7 separate regions of the Homo sapiens genome follow, and regions 1, 3, 4, 5, 6 and 7 are each linked to region 2. The links are contacts of gene promoters, found by promoter capture Hi-C in blood cells and fetal thymus (Javierre and others, 2016). All regions are on one chromosome and are shown on one strand. Each heading gives the region's core, a stretch centred on a gene start or on the middle of the fragment in contact. The rest is flanking DNA. Distances are from core to core; before and after follow the strand shown. Region 1 overlaps BBS1 (Bardet-Biedl syndrome 1). Region 2 holds the start of RBM4B (RNA binding motif protein 4B). Region 3 overlaps PC (pyruvate carboxylase). Region 4 has its middle 4.7 kb from the start of PELI3. Region 5 overlaps DPP3 (dipeptidyl peptidase 3). Region 6 holds the start of BBS1 (Bardet-Biedl syndrome 1). Region 7 overlaps TOP6BL (TOP6B like initiator of meiotic double strand breaks).

Region 1 (2,700 bases), core at 201-2,700, 150 kb after region 2:
CTGGTCCATGGTCCTCTTCTCATCCTCCATCTTCTTCCCCCAGACAATCCATGTCCTGCCACAGCTCTGACCACCACAAAGAGGAGTCCTTGGTGTCCACGCTCGATATTGTGCATGTGTCTCCAGCAGCTTAGTGAGCACCCTCGCCTGCCTCCTGCTCATCTCCACAGGGAGGTCCCATCAACACCTCAGGCTCAATGCTGCGGAAACCAGCCTCATGGTCCTGCCTCCGTCACTGCCTCCCTGTCCATCAAGTCACCTAGGTCCACCCCTCACATCTCACCGTTTGCAGGATCACATGACTCTTCCCCAAGCCACCTCCAGGGCCCACCCCGCCCCCACCCCACTGTCCCTCCTCTTCCAGACTGGGCACCTCGGTCCCCCAGGCTGGCTTCGCTCTTCCGTTTATGTGTGAAGTGGCTTCTGCCATTCAAGAGTTTCACATTTTATGTGCTTTTTCTCTAGTACTTTTACAATTTATTTTTAATCTATCCAGAATTAATTTTTGTGGCTGGTATGAAGAAAAGGTCTGATTTTCTTCCTTTTTTTTTTTTTTTTTTTTTGAGACAGAGTTTCACTCTTGTTACCCAGGCTGGAGTGCAATGGCGTGATCTCAGCTCACTGCAACCTCTGCCTCCCGGGTTCAATCGATTCTCCTGCCTCAGCCTCCCGAGTAGCTGGAATTACAGGCACGCGCCGCCAAGCCTGGCTAATTTTTTGTATTTAGTAGAGACGGGGTTTCACCATGTTGGTCAGGCTGGTCTCGAACTCCTGACCTCAGGTGATCTGCCCACCTCGGCCTCCCAAAGTGCTGGGATTACAGGTGTGAGCCACCGCACCTGGCCGAAAAGGTCTAATTTTCTTTTCTAGAAGCAAGTTGTCCTGATTGTGTGTTTTTGGACAGTCTCACATCTCCCTGCCAATTCAAAATGACACCTTTCACACACTCTGACTTTCCACATGTTCAGGGTCAGTTTCTGGACTTCCTAATCCTGCCCTGATCTCCATTCTATTTCTGCATCCACACCACAGCTTCTGATTCCCACAGCTTGAGTTCATTTTGCTACCTGATAGGGTAAGTCCCCTCATTCTTATTTTCCCCAATCTTCTTAGGTTTACTCTTTGAATCAACTGGCCAGGTCCTTAAAACAAACCCCACTGGGATTTTAACTGCAACTTCAAGCTTTACAGCATTAGGTCTTCCCATCCTGCAACTTGGTAACTCTCTCCACTTAAGCATTCTTGAAGGTGGTCTTTTCTGTTCTTGAAGATAGTTTTACAACTTTATTAGACTTTGTACATTTTCTTTTTCTTTGAGACGGAGTCTGGCTCTTGTCACCCAGGCTGGAGTGCAGTGGCGTGATCTTGGTTCACTGCAACCTTTGCCTCCTAGGTTCAAGTGATTCTCCTGCCTAAGGAGATTACAGGCGTGTGCCACCATGCCCAGCTAATTTTGTATTTTTAGTAGCAAGGGGGTTTCACCATGTTGGCCAGGCTGGTCACGAACTCCTGACCTCAGGTGATCTGCCTGCCTCGGCCTCCCAAAGAGCTGGGATTATAGGCATGAGCCACCGAACCGGGCCTGCTTTCTTGAATCCAGGTCAACACCCTGTGCCTCTGCCTATATTACCCTGCCCTGCCCTGTCTGGGGGTCTGGCTATCATCTTTTAGGGTGAAGCCCAAAGTCACCTCGCTCTGAAGCCTTTCCCAAGCTTCCCAGGCAGAAGTCCTTACTCCCTCTGTGTGCTCCAAAAGCTCTTTGCAGAAACCCCTTCTACACATGATCATGAAGTTGGCCCCAGGTAGACTGAGTTCCTAAGGTAGGGACTATTATTTATTCTTTTTTTTTTTTTTTTTTTTTTTGAGACGGAGTCTCGCTCTGTCACCAAGGCTGGAGTGCAGTGGCATGATCTTGGCTCACTGCAACCTCCGCCTCCTGGGTTTAAGCGATTCTTCTGCCTCAGCCTCCCAAGTAGCTGGGACTACAGGTGCATGCCAACACGCCTGGCTAATGTTTGTATTTTTAGTAGAGACAGGGTTTCACCATATTGGCCAGGCTGGTCTTGAACTCCTGACCTCATGATCTGCCCATCTCCGCCTCCCAAAGTGGTGGGATTACAGGCGTGAGCCACTGCACCTGGCCCAAGGTAGGGACTATTCTAATTAAAGGCACCTGGCACAAGGCCTGGTGTAATCATAGGTACTGAATGAATGAATGAACGAACGATGAATGAATGAACAAATAAACGGGCAGGAAAAACTGGACAAGATGACACTGGTCAAATTCTACTTTTCTCTTTCTCTCTCTCTCTTTTTTTTTTTTTGAGAAAGAAGTATCATTATGTTACCCAGGTAGGTCTTGAACTCCTGGGCTCATGCTGTCCTCCCACCTCTGCCAAAGTGTTGGGATTACAGGCGTGAGCCACCATGCCCAGTCAAAATTCTACTTTCCTCATGAGAATTCCTGCGTTTGGAAGTGACTGCTCCCTTCCCTGAATTCTAAGGGCTCTTGCTGTCACCCACAGCACCTTCCAGCCTGAGGAACAGTGATTTGCAGGCAACGTGTACCTCCTAGGCTGTCCCTGGATTTGCAGAGGTGAGTGACCTACCTAGTTGGCCGAGATCTCCTCCCAGTGCACAGGGAGGCTGGGCAGCATTCCCCCAGCTTTGCTGTGTAGGAGCAGTGGAGGAGGAAGAAGG
Region 2 (3,418 bases), core at 540-3,039:
AGGCTACAGTGAGCCATAATGGTGCCACTGCACTCTAGCCTGGACAACAAAGTGACACCCTGACTCAAAAATAATAGTAATAATAGTTAAGGGCCGGGCGAGGTGGCTCACGCCTGTAATCCCAACACTTTGGGATGCCAAGGCCAGCGGATCGCTTGAGGTCGGGAGTTCGACACCAGCCTGGCCAACACGGTGAAACCCTGTCTCTACTAAAAATACAAAAATTAGCTGGGGGGTAGCGCACGCCTGTAGTCCCAGCTACTCGGGAGGCTGAGGCAGGAAAATGGCTTGAACGCAGGAGGTGGAGGTTGCAGTAAGCCGAGATCGCACCACTGCCCTCCAGCCTGGGCGACACAGTGAGACTCTGTCTTTAAAAAATTAAACAAAAAATAAAAATAAAATAAAATTGGAAGGACAGTGCCTCTTCTGAAATGGCTGAGAAACAAAAAGAACTCAGGTAAAGAACATATCCAAGTAGCTGGGGTGGAAGAGGGCAGCCTGGGGAATGTGTCCCAGATGGTATCAGAGAAGCCATTATGGAGCCACTAAAATGAGGAATGGTGGCTGACAACCTCCCTGGCGGGCTCTACTAGGAGATAAACCCAATCCATCAATCTCCATAAAAGGCTACTCTTTGCTGGAAGGTGACAGTGGGGAATCAGCCTAAACTTCTTTTTTTTTTTTTTTTGAGACCGAGTCTTGCTCTGTCACCCAGGCTGGAGTGCAGTGACGCCATCTCGGCTCACTGCAACCTCCGCCTCCCGGGTTCCAACGATTCTCCTGCCTCAGCCTCCCGAGTAGTTGGGATTACAGGCGCCCGCCACCACGCCGGGCTATTTTTTGTATTTTTAGTAGACACGGGGTTTCACCATGTTGGCCAAGCTGGTGTCGAACTCCTGAACTCGTGATCCGCCCGCCTTGGCCTCCCAAAGTGCTGGGATTATAGGCGTGAGCCGCCGCACCTGGCACGCCTAAGCTTGTTTTTACCGCCAGGAGGTGCCCTTGGACCACAGCTGAATTTTGAATGCTAGACAGTCGGGAAACTCAGTTGCCTAGACTTCCAGCTTGGTGTGTACGAGGAGACCCTGTCCCACCCAGAACTAGGGACCTCGCTGGGCCTCTCCACCAAGTATTCCTCTGGCGTGCTCACCACAGACCAGGACTGTGATGGACACACAATGAGTGAGAGAGAATCAGACCACGGATACTCACGAGCAAACAAAACATGACTAAGCGTAGCCTGGGTAGCAATGCCTCTTAGGCCTGTCCCAGTTCTGCCAGGTTATCTTTCTGCCCCTTGGTTCTCAGTTTCCGTAGCAATAAATAACACCTCTGCAATGACAAACTTTAAAATAATGTTTAAAGCGCTACAAAACAATGACTAGTTTTGCTTAAAATGTGGCGCACCTGTATTTTTGAAATGTTGCCCCAAGCTGCCACAGAAGCCGGCCAGCCCGCTACAAAAGCCCCTTTTTAGGGCCCTCGGGGAGATTCCTCTGTCATTAGCTCCCCGCCCCCCTCAAAGGGCCCAAGAGCAGGACCCATTGTGGTGAGCGACTCCCCAAGGCCTCCGCTTTTCTAGGCAGTGGTTGCGTTCAGAGCCCCTCTGACGCAGCAGTGGCGACCCTTTCCAGGGTGGTGACTGGCTGGCTGGGGCTGGGGGTGGGCTGACCTCCGCGGCGCCGCGCCACCACCAACAGGCCCCGCCCCCGTGCTGCGTGGTCATTTGTATGCAGCCTCGGGATTGGTCACTCGGCTCCCGCGAGGGGAAGGGGAGGGAAGCAGCGCGCACTCGCGCGTGCGTGAGCTGGCGCGCGAGAAAGGGCCCGGTCGCGTCCAGGCTCGAGCGGCCGTCGCCATTTTGTAAGGTTCTCTCTGACGTGGGAGCCGCCGTCGCTGCCGCCACCCGGAGGTGCGAGGGGGTCGTGTGTGTGTGATGTGGGGAGCTCGGGGGCGGGTCGGGCCGGGCCTCCGGCAGACTGCACGGCCCGGATTTGGGTTTCTCATTTTGCAGCGGGAGGTCTGGGAAGACAACGGGAGGAGGCGGGGCCGGGTCTCCGGAAGGAGGCGGGGCAGGGGTCGGGTCGAGTCTTTGTTGGGGCGAAGAAGCTGGAGGGTGGGCCGCTGGGGGCGAGGTGGTTGGTCCCCGGTTTGGGGGAAAGGGGACTTTTTTCTTTTTAGAGTATCTTGAAAGGCGCTAGTGCGCGCAGGAGAGGTACACAGATTTCCCTCCAAAACCTTGTTACCAGGCGCACTGCGATTGATGCCCCTTGCCTTTGCTTGGGCTTTTCTCTTCCCTCATTTTAAGACATGAAGCAGCTAATTCTGGTATTTCATTGCGCTCCACTTCACGGAGATGATAGACTGGGCTATGCATGCTGACCCTCGACCTCCTGTTTGCATGTCACGCATAGCTCGCACTTCTCGAGAACAAACCGCCCTTCTTCTATTGAGGAAGAATAATGAATGTCTGTACGAGGGTCTTGAAGGTGCAAGAACTTTGGAGGATTAGACGAAAATGCTGCAGTGCACCGAAATTTCCCACCACACCCCTGACTTTTGAAGTCTTGTGTTTCTCTCCCAGGCTCTTGTCAGGATGGTGAAGCTGTTCATCGGAAACCTTCCCCGGGAGGCTACAGAGCAGGAGATTCGCTCACTCTTCGAGCAGTATGGGAAGGTGCTGGAATGTGACATCATTAAGAATTACGGCTTTGTGCACATAGAAGACAAGACGGCAGCTGAGGATGCCATACGCAACCTGCACCATTACAAGCTTCATGGGGTGAACATCAACGTGGAAGCCAGCAAGAATAAGAGCAAAGCTTCAACCAAGTTACACGTGGGTAACATCAGCCCCACTTGTACCAACCAAGAGCTTCGAGCCAAGTTTGAGGAGTATGGTCCGGTCATCGAATGTGACATCGTGAAAGATTATGCCTTCGTACACATGGAGCGGGCAGAGGATGCAGTGGAGGCCATCAGGGGCCTTGACAACACAGAGTTTCAAGGTGAACTGCTCTGGGCCTGGGTAGTAGCGCCGAGTGGGGTCTAGCTCAAAACAGGCAAGAACACAAGACTATAGAACTTGCTGGGTGGTCTCTTCCATTCTGTTTTAGCTGGAAATAATAGATTATGTTTACCGCTCTTAAGCATAATTTACCCCTGGGGAAGCAAACACTTCCCCTTTTCAGGTTTGCTAAGATGTTGCTCACCGACTGCATAGAATCACAAACTGTGGGTTACTTTACCCTGCGGGATTCTTGCATTGATTCGAGTGCTGTTGGAAGTGTAATCTGCTTGGGGAAACGAGTACCTCATGAGAGAAGGGAGGATAAAGGTCCGTGGCTTACCTGCTTCTTTGGTGATGATCAGGAAGCCTTATATTTGAGGGTTTAAGTGCTTAAGATTTATATTCTTT
Region 3 (3,358 bases), core at 686-3,185, 210 kb before region 2:
CTGGTGTTAGGATCTGTATAGGATCTGGTTATTTGTAGGCAACCTGGGTGTATTAGATTCCTACAGCTGCCATCACAGGGTGCCAAAAGCTGGGTGAAAACAACGGTGACTTCTTGCCTCACATCTGGAGGCCAGAAACCCCAATTCAAGGTGTGAGCAGGGCCGTGCTCTCTCGGATGGCTCTGGGAGGGTCCTGCCTGGCCACTGCCAGCTTCTGGTGTTTGCCAGCAGTCCTTGGCCTTGCCTGACTTGTAGCTGCCTCACTCCAGTCATGTGGCCGTCATCTCCTGTGTCTTCACATCTTCATTCTGTGTGTGTCTGTGTCCAGATTTCCCCCTTTTTATAAGGACACTAAGCATATTGGATTAGGGCCACCCTAATGACTTTATTTTTACTTGATTACCCTATTTCCAAATAAGGTCACTTTTTTTTTTTTTTTTTTTTAGACAGAGTCTCACTGTTGCCCAGGCTGGAGTGCAATGGCGCCATCTCGGCTCACTGCAACCTCTGCCTCCCGGGTTCAAGCAAATTCTCCTGTCTCAGCTTCCCGAGTAGCTGGGATTATAGGCAGCCACCACCACACCTGGCTAATTTTTTGTATTTTTTGGTAGAGATGGGTTTCGCCTTGTTGGCCAGGCTAGTCTTGAACTCCTGACCTCAGGTGATCAGCCCACTTCAGCCTCCGAAAGTGCTGGGATTACAGGCGTGAGCCATCGCGCCTGGCCCAAATAAGGTCACATTCTGACCTAGGTGCTAGGGGTTAGGACTTCAGTGTATCTTTTTTGGTGGGGGACACAATTCAACCTCTAACACCGGGTGACACCCGCTTGTCCTGAGCTTGACAGGTCCCGAAGTCCCCAAGGCCTCTGGGAGGCCCTCTCTAATCCAGCCAGCATTCATGTCCTGTCATCTTGGAACGAGGGGAATTGAGTGGGGAGCAGGTCCTGTGAAGCTCTCCAGCAGGGGTGGGGTGGCCTGAAGAGGGTCGGGAAATGTCCTGGGCCACCTGCAAGTGTCTGCTGGGTCCTGGCATCTTCCTCCCTGCAAAGATTGTCCAGTTCTGTTTAGAATTGAGTCTTTGGTGCCCCTAGCCTCTGTCGCCCCTCGCAGCCCTGAAACTCAGCTTCCCTGGTTCCCATTGCCAGGCTGCGTCTGAGTCCTTTTGGGCTTTAGTGACAAAATACCACAGGCTGGGTGGCTTTTAAACAACAGACATTTATTTCTCACAGTTATGGAGGCTGGAAGTCCAAGATCAAGGTTTCAACATATGGGTGTGGGGGGCACAGGCACGCTCTGCATTAGTCTGGGAGGTGCTTTTTGCTGACCTTGTCCTTCAGACCCTCTCTCTGTCCTGTCAACATCACTTTGGGCTCTAATCAATATGTATGGGACATTTGTGTGTCCCACTAGTGTGTGTGTGCTGTTCCCAGGAGGGGCCAAGCCTTACTAATCTTTATCTGAATGCTCCATAATATTTCTAGGTAAATCTTTTTTTTTAACTAATTGATTAATTATTTTTTGAGACAGAGTCTTGCTCTGTTGCCCAGGCTGGAGTGCACTGGGACCATCATGGCTCACTGCAGCTTCAACCTTCTAGGTTCAAGCAATCCTTCTGCCTCAGGCTTCCAAGCAGCTGAGACTATCTATGGGCACCACCATGCCCAGCTAATTTTTTTTTTTTTTTTTTGAGATGGAGTTTTGCTCTTGTTGCCCAGGCTGGAGTGCAATAGCACGATCTCAGCCCACCGCAACCTCTGCCTCCCACGTTCAAGCGATTTTCCTGCCTCAGCCTCCCAAGTAGCTGGGATTACAGGCGTGTGCCACCATGCCCGGCTAATTTTGTATTTTTAGTAGAGATGGGGTTTCTGCATGTTGGTCAGGCTGGTCTTGAACTCCCAACCTTAGGTGATCCACCCGCTTCAGCCTCCCAAAGTGCTGGGATTACAAGTGTGAGCCACGTGCCAGGCCACACCCAGCTAATTTTAAAAAGTTTTTTTTTTAATTTTTTGGCAGAGACAGGATCTCAATATGTTGCCCAAGCTGATCTCAAACTCCTAGACTCAAGTGATACCCCTGCCTCGGCCTCTTAAAGTGCTGAGATTACAAGCATGAGCCACCACGCCTCACGGTGAATCTTAACAGCCTCATGCCACTCTGCAACCTCATTGTGACCTGAAGTATTTCTTCACTGATTCATTCCCTCAGACATTTATTTAGTTCTGGTCTTACGCACTGTACAGAGTGCCAGGGAGATGTGGGGACAAAAGAGACCAGGGATCCTGTGCCCAGGGCCCTAACAGTGTCTATTAAAGGAGACAAGACGGGTCAACAAATCTTTATAACATTAAATGCTCTTTGCTGAGGACACAGACGCCACGGAGACCTCATGGAGAGCCCCCTGAGCAGGACGATGGGTGGGGCACAGACAAGGACAGAGCTGAGGGAGGTGGCTGCCCGGGGAATATAGGGAAGGCATTCCTGAGCCTACTCCTATAGGATGTGGAGGAATGGGGACAAGTGACCTTCCCATGTGAGCCCTGCCCACACCCCGTGCTGCAGGGTCGGCAGGAAGCTGGCTCCTCGTGCGCCAGGGGGCAGTGTTGGCCCTGAAATTCTCACTGCTTTCCAGTGAGGCTGGGATGGAGCAGCCACCTCACTGCAGGCCCTCGGGACCCCTCACTCTGCTTTCTCTGAGACCCCCTTTGTCCCCCAGTCCACAAGTCCCGAGACCATGGCGCCAGTCGCCTCGGTGCCACCCTTTCCCCCTCGGCTGCTCCTTTGAATAGAGGGTTGCCAGGGCGATGAGGAGCCCTGCTGGCACTGTTCACTGCTGTTCGTCGCCGCAGTGCCACTTGGAGCAGCCGGCGCTCCTGGGGGCCCAGAGCCCGGACAGCTGAGCCTCGGCGAGCACCCGTGCTGTGTCTGTTTCCGTCTTTGGTATTGTCTCTCTCCTGTCTTCTGTGTCTGTCACCTGCATTGTTTCCAGCGTCCTCCCTTCTGCCCCCCCTGCCCAGAAATCTCAGCCTCAGTCTGTCCTCTCTTGGGTGCTTTGATATCAGCCGTGGCAGCCCTGAGAGCCAGGTGGAGTCGTTCTTTCATCTGTCCCTCTTGGCTGCCAGCCCTGGGGCCCGTCGGACATGTTTAGAGCAGAGCCGCCTGGGGAGAGCGGCCCCATCCGTCAGAGCTGCCACCGCCGCAGCCCCGAGTGCTCTGCCAAGAGCTCTTTCTTTCTGGTTCTGACCTGCTTTCACTGGCAGCTGTGGAGCCCAGCTGGGGCTAGGGGCACAGCCTGGTGCGGGTGCTGGTGCTGGGGGCAGCTGGGCCCATAGGAAGTAGGTGTGTGGAGCTTTGTTGGTTC
Region 4 (3,437 bases), core at 699-3,198, 220 kb after region 2:
CACCCGCCACCACGCCTGGCTAATTTTTGTAGTTTTAGTAGAAACGGGGTTTCACTGTGTTAGCCAGGATGGTCTCGATCTCCTGACCTTGTGATCCGCCTGCCTCTGCCTCCCAAAGTGCTGGGATTACAGGTGTGAGCCACCACGCCCGGCCGAAACTTTATTTCTTTAATTCTTGGGTTCTAATGCCTGAAGGGGAGAGGCTTGGAATAGTTTGGAAAAGTAGTTGTATATCTAGTTGAGAAAACATGTGGAAAAAACAAAACAGGGCTGGGCGCAGTGGCTCACCCCAATGCTTTGGGAGGCCAAGGCAGGAGGATCGCTTGAGGCTAGGAGTTTGAGACGAGCCTGGGCAACATAGTAAGACCCTGTCTCTACAAAATTAAAAAAATTAGCTGGGCATGGTGGTGCCTGCCTGTAGTCCCAGCTACGCAAGAGGTTGGGTCAGGAGAATCATTTGAGCCCAGGAGATCGAGACTGCAGTGAGCTATGATCACATCACTACACTCCAGCCTGGGCAACAGAGTAAAATCCTGTCTCTAAAAAAAATTAAGAAGAGAAAAAAACAACAGCAGCACATTCTTTCTGGGCTGGGAGATTTGGAGAGGAGAAGGAAGAGCTAAGATGCTAGGTTCTGCCCTTGAGGCCATGCCAGACGGGGAGGGTGGGGTTGGGAAAAGACAGATCCCTCACATGGATTTGGGGATCCAGAGCAGAGGCGACCTGGGCTTCAGTTCTCGGTCTCTAGCTTTAGAGGAAAGCCCTTGAAGCAAGGCCTGAGAATAATAATCCATGGCTCTTGGTCTCTTAGTTCTACTTCCTGAGTCATCTTTCATTTTCCATAAAAGGTAGTCTGTGTTTGCAGCTGAGTAATTTTCTTGGCCTGCATCCTGTCTATAGAAGTTTGAGGGTTCGAATGCCTCTTTTCCATTTCTGTTGTCTCTGTCCTTTACAGTCCAAGTTGTCAGTGTTTCTGCCAATACAATTCTCTTAAAAACTTTGTAGATTTCTATGGACCTTATTCACTTCATTAGACTATGCCCACAAATCTCTTTGAGATAAGCCCCCCTACCTTGGGCTCATGCTGATAGACAAATCCTTTAACGTTTCTAGAAGCCCTTATTGTTTGAATGGTTCTATTGCCTTAGACCTGAAGTCTTAGGGAATTTACAGGCATACTGTTGGCCTCTTGGCTTCAACTTTATACCATGTTTTTCTGATGTGATCTTTTTCCAGAAGCCATTTCTTAATTTTAGCATTGTTTTTGGCTGGAGAGGCTGGGAATTTTCTTCTTCTTCTTTGTTTGTTTGTTTGTTTGTTTTTGAGACGAAGTTTTGCTCTTGTTGCCCAGGCTGGAGTATAATGGTGTGATGTCGGCTCACTGCAACCTCCACCTCCTGGGTTCAAGTGATTCTCCTGCCTCAGCCTCCCAAGTAGCTGAGATTATAGGCATGCATCACCACTCCTGGCTAATTTTGTATTTTTAGTAGAGATGGGGTTTCACCTTGTTGGTCAGGCTGGTCTTGAAGCCCTGACCTCAGGTGATCCACCTGCACAGCCTCCCAAAATGCTGGGATTACAGGCATGAGCCATTGCACCTGGCTGAGGCTGGGAATTTTCAAAATCATCAAATTCTAACTATTTTTGGTTTAACAGAGCTCCTGTCAGTTTATAACTTGCCTCTCAACTCTCATGTTTTACTCTAAGCAGGAAGAAGAAATAAGGTACTACCTGTAACATTTTGCCTGGAAATCTCCTTAGCTAGATCACATATTTCATTAGGCACATCTTCTACCTTTTTCTTCTTTCTTCCCTTCCCTTCCCCTCCCTTCCTTTTCTTTCCTTGCCTTTTGTCAGAGTCTTGTTCTGTTGCCCAGGCTGAAGTGCAATGGTGCATTACTTGCAGCCTTGAGCTCCTGAGCTCAAGCAATCCTCCTGCTTCAGCCTCTGCAGTATCTGGGACTACAGGCACATGCTACCATGCCCAGCTTAGTTTATTTCTATTTAAAAACATTTTTTTAGAGATAGAGTCTAGCTATGTTGCCCAGGCCGTTCTGAAACTCCTAGTGATCCTCCAGCCTCAGCCTTCTGAGTTGTCGAGATTGCAGGTAGGAGCTACCATACCAATCTACACATTATGAAGGATGACAATGTTGCTAAATTACCTGCCACTATACAACAAGGATCTCCTTCCCTTGAGATCCAATAATATTTTCCCACTTTCCTTTCAGCTTTCACTATCAGCCTTCTCTAAGGCCATCAGTCTTCTTAAAGTAGTCCCATGATCCCTCACTCCTGGTATTCACACCTTTATGTCAACCCCTTCCCTTGAATGTGGGTGGGCAGGACCTATGACTTTCTTCTAACCAACAGTATATGGCAAAGGTGATGGGTTGTGCCTGATTACATGCACATAGTGATGTTATTATGTTATATAAGTTTGTAGCACCTGTCTTGCTGGGGTCTCTCTCACTCCTTGCTGGCTTTAGAAAAGCAAGCTGCCATTTTGTGCACTTCCCATATGGGGAGGCCCATGTATCAGGGACCAAGAGTGATCTCTAAGAGCTGAGAATGGTTTGCAGCCAGCAGCCAGCAGAAGGAAAAAAAAAAAAACAAAAAAAAAACCTCAGTCCTGGAGCTGCAATTGAATCTGCCAACAAAAGTGATTCTGGGCTGGGCGTGGTGGCTCACACCTGTAATCCCAACACTTTGGGAGGCTGAGGTGTATGGATCACCCGAGGTCAGGAGTTCAAGACCAACCTGGCCAAAATGGTGAAACCCCATCTCTACTAAAAATACAAAAATTAGACAGGTGTAGTGGTGCACTCCTGTAATCCCAGCCACTAGGGAGGCTGAGGCAGGCGAATTGCTTGAACCCAGGAGGTGGAGGTTGCAGTGAGCCGAGATCGTGCCACTGCCCTCCAGCCTGGGCAACAGAGTGAGACTTTGTCTCAAAAAAAAAAAAAAGAGGATTCTTCCCCAGTTGAGTCTCAGATGAGACCACAGCCCTAGCAGACTCCTTGATTGAAGTCATGTGACACCCTATGCTGAGGACTCTGCGTAGCCATGCCTGGACTCCTGATCCCACAGAAACTGAAGTAATAAATGTGTGTTGTTTTAAGCTGCTATGTTTGTGGTATATTGGTATACAGCAGTGGATGACTAATACAAAGGCTTTCAGACTTTTGCTAACACTATACTTAAAGTCTTTCTAGCCTCTGCTCACTACTCCCACATTTTTAGGTATTTTTTATTGTCCTCACTCCTGGCATTAAATCTTTTTTTTTTTTTTTTGGCTGGGCACGGTGGCTGACGCCTGTAATCCCAGCACTTTGGGAGTGAAAGTGAAACACAGTGAAACCCCGTCTCTACTACAAATACAAAAAAATTAGCCGGGTGTGGTGGCGGGTACCTGTAGTCCCAGCTACTCGGGAGGC
Region 5 (3,140 bases), core at 295-2,794, 190 kb after region 2:
GGGAGCTTGTAGTCAGGGAAGCTACTGAATGTGCCGATGGGAAGAAAGAAGGGCACAGACTCAGTTATGGGAAGATAGGGAAAGGTCCTGGGGAAGGCAAGTCCATGCATGGCCTAGAGGATGGGGAGGAGGTGGCCAGGGGACAAGGAGAGGCTGGAGGGGGTTCCGCATGAGAAGCAGGGAATGGATTGTGCAAAGACCTGGACAGGGGCCAGGCGCGGTGGCTCACGCCTATAATCCAGCACACTGGGAGGCCGAGAGGCACGCGGATCACCTGAGGTCAGGAGTTCAGGACCAGCCTGGCCAAATGGCGAAATCTCATCTCTACTAAAAATACAAAAATTAGCCAGGTATGGTGATGGGCACCTGCAATCCCAGCTACTGGGGAGGCTGAGGCAGGAGAATTGCTTGAACCCGGGAGGCAGAGGTTGCGGTGAACCAAGGTCGCACCACTGCACTCTAGCCTGGGCACTCCAGCCTGGGCGATACAGCAAGACTCTGTCTCAAAAAACAAAAACAAAAAGACCTAGAGAGGGTCCATCAGAACTGGATGCTGTTGAGCATGGCCAGAGCACAGAGTCTGAGTGGGAGGATGTGGAGATGAAGCAGGGGCTGGGGTGCGAGTGGGGAACAAAGAGCCAGGTGGCAAAGGTCTTCATAAAGGCCTGGACACTTCTGTCCATACTATTTCCTCTCTCCTGGGAATGGACCCCAATTTCCCCTTGAGAATACCACCCCAGGCCCCACTACTACTACCCCAAGTGCAGGTGGTTTGGGAAGGGCCAGCCTCTTTTTTTTTTTTTTTTTTTCCTTGATCTGGAGCTTCGCTCTGTCACCCAGGTTGGAGTGCAGTGGTAAGATCTCGGCTCACTGCAACCTCTCCCTTCCAGGTTTAAGCGATTCTCCTGCCTCAGTCTCCCAAGTAGCTGGAATTACAGGCACACGCCACCACGCCCGGCTAATTTCTGTATTTTTAGTAGAGATGGGGTTTCACCATGTTGGCCAGGCTGGTCTCGAACTCCTGACCTTAGGTGATTCGCCCACCTTTGCCTCCCAAAGTGCTGGGATTACAGGTGTGAGCTGCCATGCCCGGCCTGAAGGGCCAACCTCATCGCCTGACTCCAGGGTAGGCTTGAGACCAGGTTGAGCCAATCAGAGACCTGTCCCTTGCCAGCCCTCAGGGATTGGTTCACAGACAAATAGGGGACTGATTTAGAGAAACTAGAGCCATTCCCAGGACTTATGTAGAAAATCCTGGGAGAGAAGGATGCTCTTTCTGAAGGAGTGGCAGAGTTGGTAGGACCTGAGCCACCCAGGTCCGGAAATGCCCAGGAGGGAGCAGAAGGGAAGCCTGGGGCTAAGCTCACCTGAGCCAAGCACAGAAGCCAGCCGCACCTCGTAGTAGGGCTTCCCTTCTCCATCGACCTCTTTGAAGAGCCGGGTGTTGTAGGCACTGAGGTTCTAGAAGAGACCAGGACAGGGGTTAAGAGTGAAGTCTGGAGAGGGCAGTGGGGTGGGAGGAAGGAAAATGGGTCAACCCTAGGGGAGAAGGCATGGAGGCAAAGCAGGCTGGGCCTTCTGGGTTGGCTGGGAGCAGGAGTGGGAGAGAGTGGGAGTGGGCAGCCCAGGGCCGACTCTCCTGCTCTGCTCAGGACACTGTGCACTTCTACTAAGCACTGACTGCAACCACTGTGCCAGGCACTGCACGGCCTCTGCGAACCCAGGGCTACTGGAGGTGGGTACCACTTCACAGACATGGAAACTGATCACATGGCTGGTGAGTGGCTGAGCTGGGAGCACCACTGACACATGGACCCCGGAGCCTCACACCCCTGTGGCCTGAGGTCCTGGTTCCTCGCCCTGCCCTGAGGCTGTCATTAGGCTCTATAGCCTGGGGTGGGCAGGGGTCGCGCCTTCCCTAGTACACAGGGAGTAGTCAAGCAGAGACCCAGGAGTGGTCACCAGTTGTGAGGGGGCTGGGACTAGGAACCCCACCAAACCTCTGCTACCTTGAGCTCCCCTAACCCCAAACCTGTGAGTCCAGAAAGTCCTGGGCCAATTTGGCATCTTCCATGGTACAATTCCCAGAGAAATAGGTGGTGATTCCCTGTTGGGGAAGACAGGGGACATGAGAAAGAGGAGTTGCCAAGGTCAGGGCTGCAGGGACGTCATATTCCCAGGCTTCCCGCCCCTCCCTCCTTTCAGCAGCCTCTACCCCTTACCCCTCCATCTACCTCCAGGGGAAAAAGTTATAAAACAAACAAACATGCTCATCTCCAGTGTTGCTGCAGCTCTGCCCAGGCCTCTCTCTGGCTGGCCCACCCCTAAGGCTTGCCAAGGTCCTCATCCCATGCAACGGATGTGGCCTCCAGAGGTGGGAAACCTGGGACCCCCCTCCTTCCCTGCCATCCCCTCCTCAGCTCCCTCCACCTCCAGCCTTCCTCTCCTTCCCTCCATCAGCACATGGCATCCTGTGTACAGAATGTCAGATCTGGGAGGGCATTCAGAAAGCATTCGACCCAACATGCTTACCATTCTACAGATGACAAAACTGAGGCCTGCAGTGGGGAGCAGCATTGCCTCAGGAGTGTGAGGCAGAGCCCACTGCCTCCCCATCCCGTGTCCTTCCCTCCTTACCAGGTGGCCTTGAAGGATTCCCTCCACTCCCTGTCCCCTCGGGGGAGTCAGGGGCCTCACCTCCTTCCCCAGTCCGAGGTGTCGAAGCCTTGGCTCCAGAGAGAACATAAGCTCCCCGCAGGTCTGCCAGAGGCCCCTGACTTCTTCTGGGTGCTGCTGAGCAGCCTCACTCCCTAGGATCACCCGTTCCAGCTTTTCCTGCAAGGAAAGGGAGGCCAATGGCCCAGTCACACCACCCAAACCTGCCTTCCAGAGCCTCCCTACCCACTCCCAAGCTCTTCTCCTATGATCTAAGAGCTCTGGCTCATTGTGTGGTCCATGGACCAGCAGCACTTGTAGGTCCTGAGAAATGTCAAGCGTCCATGTGTGGTGGCTCACACCTATAATCCCAGCACTTTGGGAGGCAGAGGAGGGAGAGATGCTTGAGGCCAGGAGTTCAAGACAAGCCTGGGCAACACAGAGAGACCCCATCTCTACAAAGAATAAAAAAAATTAGGCCAGAC
Region 6 (3,144 bases), core at 523-3,022, 170 kb after region 2:
TCCAGGACTATCTTCTAGCCACCCACATGATATATCCATTGTGGTGTTGTTGCCCATGGTGAGGGCTGAGCTTTGGTAGAAAAAGCACAAAACTTGGAATCAAACAGACCCAGTTACAAATTCAGTAAACTTCACCTCTTTGAAACTATTTTCCCATTCACAAAATGGGAATAAATAAAATCCATGTTTATGTGCCTCCATGGAATGTCTAGTCCAGAAATGGATACTGAATCCATGCTAACTTCCTTTCTTTTATCCCAATATATTTCTCTACCTTTAAAAAACTTGTATCTTTTTAAATTTACATTTTTATTTAAAATTAAATATATGTATATATATATACATATATATACACATATATATACATATATATACATATATATACACATATATATATATATATTTTTTTTTGAAACTGTCTCACTCTGTCATCCAGGCTGGAGTGTAGTGGCATGGTCTCAGCTCACTCAACCTCCGCCTCCTGGGTTTGACCAATTCTCCTGCCTCAGCCTCCCAAGTAGCTGGGATTACAGGTGCCCATCACCATGCCCGGCTAATTTTTGTATTTTTAGTAGAGATGGTGTTTCACCATGTTGGACAGGCTGGTCTCGAATGCCTAAGCTCAAGCGATCCACCCACCTCAGCCTCCCAAAGTGCTGGGATTGCTGGCCTTAAAATTAAATTTAAAATGTAACATTTTTACTATGGAAAATTTTCATTCACATACAAAAGTAGAGAGACTCATATAATGAGTCCCCATATATCCCATTATCCAGCTTCAAAAATTGACAGCTCATGGCCCATCTTAAAATCTTTTGATAAACATCAAACGTTCACTTCCCTCCTTTTTACTTTCCCTCCAGATTCTAGTGCCCACCCCCAACCAAGGGATTTGCCCTTCCAACAAAGAAATCAGGTTAACTAAGAGGCTTTGTCTTAGTAGAATCCCCAGAAATATTTGATCTGCTTTACTTTCTGCAGTCTGTATTATGAAATCAATAAGTTCTCTTCACTTTCCATATAAAAACAAAATTTAACGCTAAATGTGCTTTTTCACAGTATATGTGAATTCCAGAGTATGCTGGGCCTATTTTCAGCCGTCAGGAAATCTCATTTCTGGGTACACCCCCCTACCCTCAACTCTCCTGGCTAGGGTGATATGCTTACCTTGTATTCCCCATCCCCATGTAAATCTGCCAGCGCTGGAAAACAAAAGGGCCAAAACCAGAGTCTCAGAATCCCAGAGGCTTCACTACAGGACCATTGTCTGACTCCCCATCCCACTAGAACCCAGGGTTCCTGGTTCCAGAGACTCACCTAGGCAGGCAGAAAAGGTGTGGATATTGGCCATTGGGTCGTAGTGCGCATCCAACCACTTCGAATTGGCCTCATTGCTGGAAGTGGGGGAAAGACAGTTGGGGAGTGAGTCCCATGGGAGGGGAAAAAAAAACTTTGAGGAAGCTGGTACAGGTCACTCTGAACATAAGGTACAGAACGTCTGGGTACAAGTCCAGGCTCCGCCACTGGCTCACCGAGCGACCTCCAGACACACATATGCACATCTTAGGCCTCGGTTTCCCTATCTGACCTCTTAAGAGTCCTTCCAGACTGCCCGAGAACAGCAGGAGCCCAGAGCCCGGGGACCAAGGGACCCTCTTTACACGGGTGGGAAAAGAGGCCTTGAGGAGCCCTGCCTTCACCTCTCAGCTCCGCAGGCGTCGGAATCCGATGAGGACGCAGCGGCCATCTTCGCAGGCGTCGTCCTGGCAACCGGCCCCGCCCTCGCGTAACGCCCAATAGTGCCCGAGCACAGGGAAGGGCGAGTACAAAGGTTCCGGGCGCCAAGCTTTCCCACCCAGGCTCAGGAGGACGCGCTGGCCACCTTCCTGGGTTGAGGAATCTGTCTCAGATTCCTCAAAGATATTTATCTTTGCTCCTTCCCAGTCAGAGCCACCTTTCCAGGCGTCTGGGTCCTACAATCTCTGGGTCAGCCACAGAGCCCTCTGGCTTCCAGGGTTGGAAAGAAGCCCCTTCTAGCATTTATGAGCAGCAAAAAGAACTCCTCCTGTCTCCATCTTCATGGTTACCCGGTTGAAAAGGACCATGTCCTGCCTTGCTGCGTTACTGTAGAGGTCCAGGCCCAGAGAAACAAAACACGAGGGTTATGGGACAAATGCAGAGGATTCTGACTGAAGTTGAGTTTGTAGGTTCCCAGAACTTTTTTTTTTTTTTTTTTTTTTTGAGACGTAGTCTCGCTCTGTCGCTTGCGCTGGAGCGCAGTAGCGCGATTTCGGCTCACCGCAACCTCCGCCTCCCGGGTTCCAGGGATTCTCCTGCCTCAGCCTCCCGAGTAGCTGGGATTACAGGCGCATGCCACCATGCCCAGCTACTTTATTTTTTAGTAGAGACGAGGTTTCACCATATTGGCCAAGCCGGTCTCGAACTCCTGACCTCGTGATCCCCTCGCCTCGGCCTCCCAAAGTGCTGGGATTACAGGCATGAGCCACCGTGCCCGGCCCCAGAACATTTAAAAATGCAAGGAATGCCACAAAGGAGAGCTGCAAAAATTGTGCTATGTTCAGCTCTGTGACTGCGTATCCTCATCTAGAGATAATGTCAACATCCTGTTGTGGAAGGGAGGCTAAAAATGGCCCTCCTTGCCCCCTCCCCAGGCCTTGAGCCCATCACTCTGCTGGGAGTAAATGAGAAGACAGGCAAAGGCAAGGAGGAGCCACACACGCCGCAAAGATGGTGGTTGTCTCTAATATTTATTTGTCTGGTTATAAAATTAATATGTGAGGAGCATTGGATTTGGTGAGAACGTTTTGAACCCTAGCTGTCACGTGCCACCTGCGGGATCTAGACCAGTGACTTCTCAGAACTGCCATTTCCTCATCTGGTAGACAGGATGGTAAGCCCTGTCTTGCTCACTCCACGTATGGCAGTGCAGATGAAATGAGATCACAGAGGGGAAGCAATTGGCAGGCTGGAAAGTGCTGACAAATGGAAGGGGTTGTGTCACCACCCTCAGCTGAGGTAGTACCAAGGTCCAAGCTCCTGCCCCTCCCCCTCCCCAGCCCCTAAATACACACACGAATGGAGGGCCACTTGCAGCCTTGGTCTGATGGAATTGGGGGCAAGGCC
Region 7 (3,101 bases), core at 184-2,683, 140 kb before region 2:
AGGAAAATGGGGGAAGAATGTAAGACACAGCGAAACAGCAGCTCCAGAAGTCTGTGTGGGAAGGGGAATTATATGCATAAGGAAGAGGTGTGTTATCAGCCATTTTTCCCTATTAACTATTTCCCTATTTACCCAAACACACCTACTAGGAGGTAAGACTAAGCAAGCTGGTTACAGTGATCCATCTAAGCTAAAGTTTGAGTTGTAGGCTAGATGCAGTGTTACAAGATCACCCAGGTGACAGAAGAGGAGAGGAAGGGGCATTAAGGGAGGAAGGGCTCCTGGGCCCTGCCTGCCATATATGCTTGCTATCTTTTTCTTAGAGAATAGGAGAAAAGAGGCTGTGAATTCCTTATTACCTTGGCAGCCTGGTGATGTTGCTCCAAGACCTTGTCCACAGTGAATTGGATGGAACCTTGCACTACACTGTGGCTCTCCACAAGGATGGCATTGAGATGAGTTGTGAGCAAAGTATAGACTCCTAAGGGGAGGGAGAAGGTAAAATTATCACTATATCTACCTCCCCTCACTGTGCATCTGCAAAAGCTAGTCTTAAATTACCAGATGTGGCCTGTAATCCCAGCACTTTGGGAGGCCGAGGCGGGCGGATCACGAGGTCAGGAGATCGAGACCACGGTGAAACCCCGTCTCCACTAAAAATACAAAAAATTAGCCAAGCACGGTGGCGGGCACCTGTAGTCCCAGCTACTCGGGAGGCTGAGGCAGGAGAATGGCGTGAACCCGGGAGGCGGAGCTTGCAGTGAGCCAAGATTGTGCCACTGCGCTCCAGCCTGGGTGACAGAGTGAGACTCCGTCTCAAAAAAAAAAAAAAAAAAATTACCAGATGTGTAAGATTTAAGACACTTGTTTACTAATACACTGATGAATTTCTTTTAAATCCAATACTGAGTACAACGACTGAGATACTGCAGGCCCTCAGAATCAAGCTAAACAGAGGTGTACAAATTATCACAGTAGTTCAGGAATGATAACACTGGTTTCTGAGGAATCCGAGTTCTTTAGAAATGTTCAGTAGGGCTCAGAACATGGTATCAGGCTTGCATTATCCAAGGATTAACCATGAGCGAGGATAACTACTTCAAGATTGCTGTTCATGTGCTTTGAGTCAGGACTGGGAGTGGGAAAGATGCCTCTTGGAAGAAGAGACCCCTACATATCCACAAATAATTACCTTTTTTTAGACAAAATCTCCCAGCAACTTACACACCTACCTAATTCCCACTCATAAATCTAAGAAAGCTCAGGAAAATTAAGGTGGAGAATGACATTATTTTTTAAAGAAACAAATAAGGGATCCTGTTTAATTCATAGCAGAAATATATACCATGTACTATAAACAACAATCCCAGTGACTCCCAAAGGAGAGGAGAAAGGGAGAAGCAAAGGTCCTATAGAGTGTGTCTAACCCTACTCTACGTCTATGTGAACATCACTGTTGTGGCAGTGCTTTCAGACGTACTGTGGTAAAGAAAAGGTTAAAATTCACAGAGATGACACAGAACTGTTGGTATGAGGTCCTTTTAAATGGGAGATTATCTCTGTTAAAGTAACCACAGGCACCACTGCTCAGTCTCATTCAGAAAAGCTAATATGTGAGAGCAACAGGCAAAAAAACTATGCCATCAAACAATAGGCCACCATTTAATGATCCCGATGCAGCAGGCACAGGAAGCCAAATTTACAGGTCACCTGGAGAAAATCCTTCTTGATTATTCTTTGTTTTCAGTGTTCAGAATTCTATGGGAAGCAGCCTAAAACTGGCTGGCTTTTTCCAGGACTGTATTAAAAATGCAAACCAGAAGAACATTTTCTACCACAAGGCACCATGATCCTTTCCTGGTAGGGAACGTAATATATGGTAAGCTCAAAAGGATTCTGGAGCTGGAGTCAGGGAGAACATAGATTCTAGGGCCAATTCTGCCATCAACTAGTGGTGATGAAATCTTTTCTTCAGTATAGAAAATGGCTTTATACCACCTGCTCTCACAGGTATGTTGTGTAGATAAACTGCGATAATGTACACAAAGTGTTTTGTGGGTTTTGTTGCCCAGCCTGGAGTGCAGTGACACGATCTTGGCTCACTGCAGCCTCGACCACCGGGGCTCAAGTGATCCTCCCACCTCAGCCTCCCGAATAGCTGGGACCACAGGTGTACACCACCACCATGCCTGGCCAATTTTTTTTTTTTTTTTTTTTTTAAGACAAGAGTTTTGCTCTTGTTGCCCGAGCTGGAGTGCAATGGCGTGATCTCGGCTCACTGCAACCTCCGCCTCCTGGATTCAAGTGATTATCTTGCCTCAGCCTCCCGAGTAGCTGGGATTACAGGCGCCTGCCACCACACCCAGCTAATTTTTGTATTTTTAGTAGAGACGGGGTTTCGCCATGTTGGCCAGACTGGTCTCAAACTCCTGACCTCAGTGTGATCCGCCCGCCTCGGCCTCCCAAAGTGCTGGGATTACAGGTGTGAGGGACCATGCCCGGGCAAATTTGTATATGTAGAGACGAGGTCTCGCTGTGTTGCCCGAGCTGGTCTTGAACTCTTGGGCTCAAGCGGTCCTCCTGCTTTGGCCCCTCAAAGTATTGGGATTACAGGAGCCAAGCCACAGTGCCTAGCCCATGAAGTGTTTTGAAATGTACACTGTACAGTTTCAAAATATTGCTATTGCTATGTTAATGTATCATCTAGATTGGTATTTTCCATAGTTTGGTTTTAAGAACAGCTTCAAGAAATCAGATCTCTTTTGAAAGCAGACATTTAATTTAAAAGTCAAAGTTCATTCCTAAAACTTTTGACCACCAAATGCTTTTGACATTGGGGAAAATAATGAGTTAGTCACAAGAAAAAAAAAATGAGTTAATCACAGAAAAGTTACCATGACAAGGTAGGTGGGCATAAGGCCAATTAAGTAATTTTCTTAAAGACACATGGAAACAGACTAACTTTGCACCATCTGTTTCCTAAAAAAGAGGCTCTAGAGAAAGCTTTTAAGGATATGAGAAAGAAAAGGGGGAAGAGAAGGTAAAATTATCACTATGTCTATATCTACCTTCCCTCACTGTGCATCTTCTTCAGAGGCTAG

The links. Contacts are between HindIII fragments. The CHiCAGO score rates a contact against its expected background, and 5 or more counts as called.
Region 1: a contact is called between a fragment that was not itself captured here and the fragment with the promoter of RBM4B in region 2, in 1 of 17 cell types (endothelial precursors). The highest score is 5.9, in endothelial precursors.
Region 3: a contact is called between a fragment that was not itself captured here and the fragment with the promoter of RBM4B in region 2, in 2 of 17 cell types (megakaryocytes and endothelial precursors). The highest score is 5.6, in megakaryocytes.
Region 4: a contact is called between a fragment that was not itself captured here and the fragment with the promoter of RBM4B in region 2, in 7 of 17 cell types (M2 macrophages, naive B cells, erythroblasts and 4 more). The highest score is 9.8, in M2 macrophages.
Region 5: a fragment that was not itself captured here is called in contact with the fragment with the promoter of RBM4B in region 2 in 14 of 17 cell types (M2 macrophages, M1 macrophages, naive B cells and 11 more); the score reaches 23.8 in M2 macrophages.
Region 6: a contact is called between the fragment with the promoter of BBS1 here and the fragment with the promoter of RBM4B in region 2, in 16 of 17 cell types (M2 macrophages, M1 macrophages, M0 macrophages and 13 more). The highest score is 17.5, in M2 macrophages.
Region 7: a fragment that was not itself captured here is called in contact with the fragment with the promoter of RBM4B in region 2 in 3 of 17 cell types (endothelial precursors, M0 macrophages and M2 macrophages); the score reaches 6.5 in endothelial precursors.

The regions. Positions count from the first base shown.
Region 1 is chr11:66,526,832-66,529,531 of GRCh38, reverse strand. The region is part of intron 13 of BBS1 (Bardet-Biedl syndrome 1); the gene reads right to left. It also overlaps a transcript of ZDHHC24 not described here. Among named protein-coding and RNA genes, the nearest start is that of BBS1, 18 kb to the right of the region's middle. The HindIII fragment of the contact is 529 bases long and covers 1,186-1,714 here.
Region 2 is chr11:66,676,258-66,679,675 of GRCh38, reverse strand. RBM4B (RNA binding motif protein 4B) reads left to right here and starts at 1,789. Exons shown (of 4, transcript NM_031492.4): 1 at 1,789-1,912; 2 at 2,585-3,008. The coding sequence starts at 2,597. RefSeq lists silencers at 1,587-1,866, 2,067-2,176. The HindIII fragment of the contact is 1,797 bases long and covers 979-2,775 here.
Region 3 is chr11:66,882,574-66,885,931 of GRCh38, reverse strand. The region is part of intron 3 of PC (pyruvate carboxylase); the gene reads left to right. Among named protein-coding and RNA genes, the nearest start is that of LRFN4, 27 kb to the right of the region's middle. RefSeq lists enhancers at 2,481-3,218, 3,219-3,358. The HindIII fragment of the contact is 6,228 bases long and covers 1-3,358 here.
Region 4 is chr11:66,460,532-66,463,968 of GRCh38, reverse strand. No RefSeq gene overlaps it. Among named protein-coding and RNA genes, the nearest start is that of PELI3, 4.7 kb to the left of the region's middle. The HindIII fragment of the contact is 5,660 bases long and covers 1-3,437 here.
Region 5 is chr11:66,486,235-66,489,374 of GRCh38, reverse strand. DPP3 (dipeptidyl peptidase 3) reads right to left here. Exons shown (of 18, transcript NM_130443.4): 4 at 2,698-2,835; 5 at 2,033-2,107; 6 at 1,368-1,461. Among named protein-coding and RNA genes, the nearest start is that of DPP3, 7.4 kb to the right of the region's middle. The HindIII fragment of the contact is 8,189 bases long and covers 1-3,140 here.
Region 6 is chr11:66,509,263-66,512,406 of GRCh38, reverse strand. BBS1 (Bardet-Biedl syndrome 1) reads right to left here and starts at 1,772. Exons shown (of 17, transcript NM_024649.5): 1 at 1,701-1,772; 2 at 1,318-1,394; 3 at 1,168-1,202. The coding sequence starts at 1,747. It overlaps DPP3 (dipeptidyl peptidase 3), which reads right to left. Exons shown (of 18, transcript NM_130443.4): 18 at 2,750-3,144. RefSeq lists an enhancer at 1,861-1,910. The HindIII fragment of the contact is 5,944 bases long and covers 1-1,848 here.
Region 7 is chr11:66,819,023-66,822,123 of GRCh38, reverse strand. TOP6BL (TOP6B like initiator of meiotic double strand breaks) reads right to left here. Exons shown (of 15, transcript NM_001302084.2): 10 at 360-481. Among named protein-coding and RNA genes, the nearest start is that of RCE1, 23 kb to the left of the region's middle. The HindIII fragment of the contact is 3,144 bases long and covers 1-3,005 here.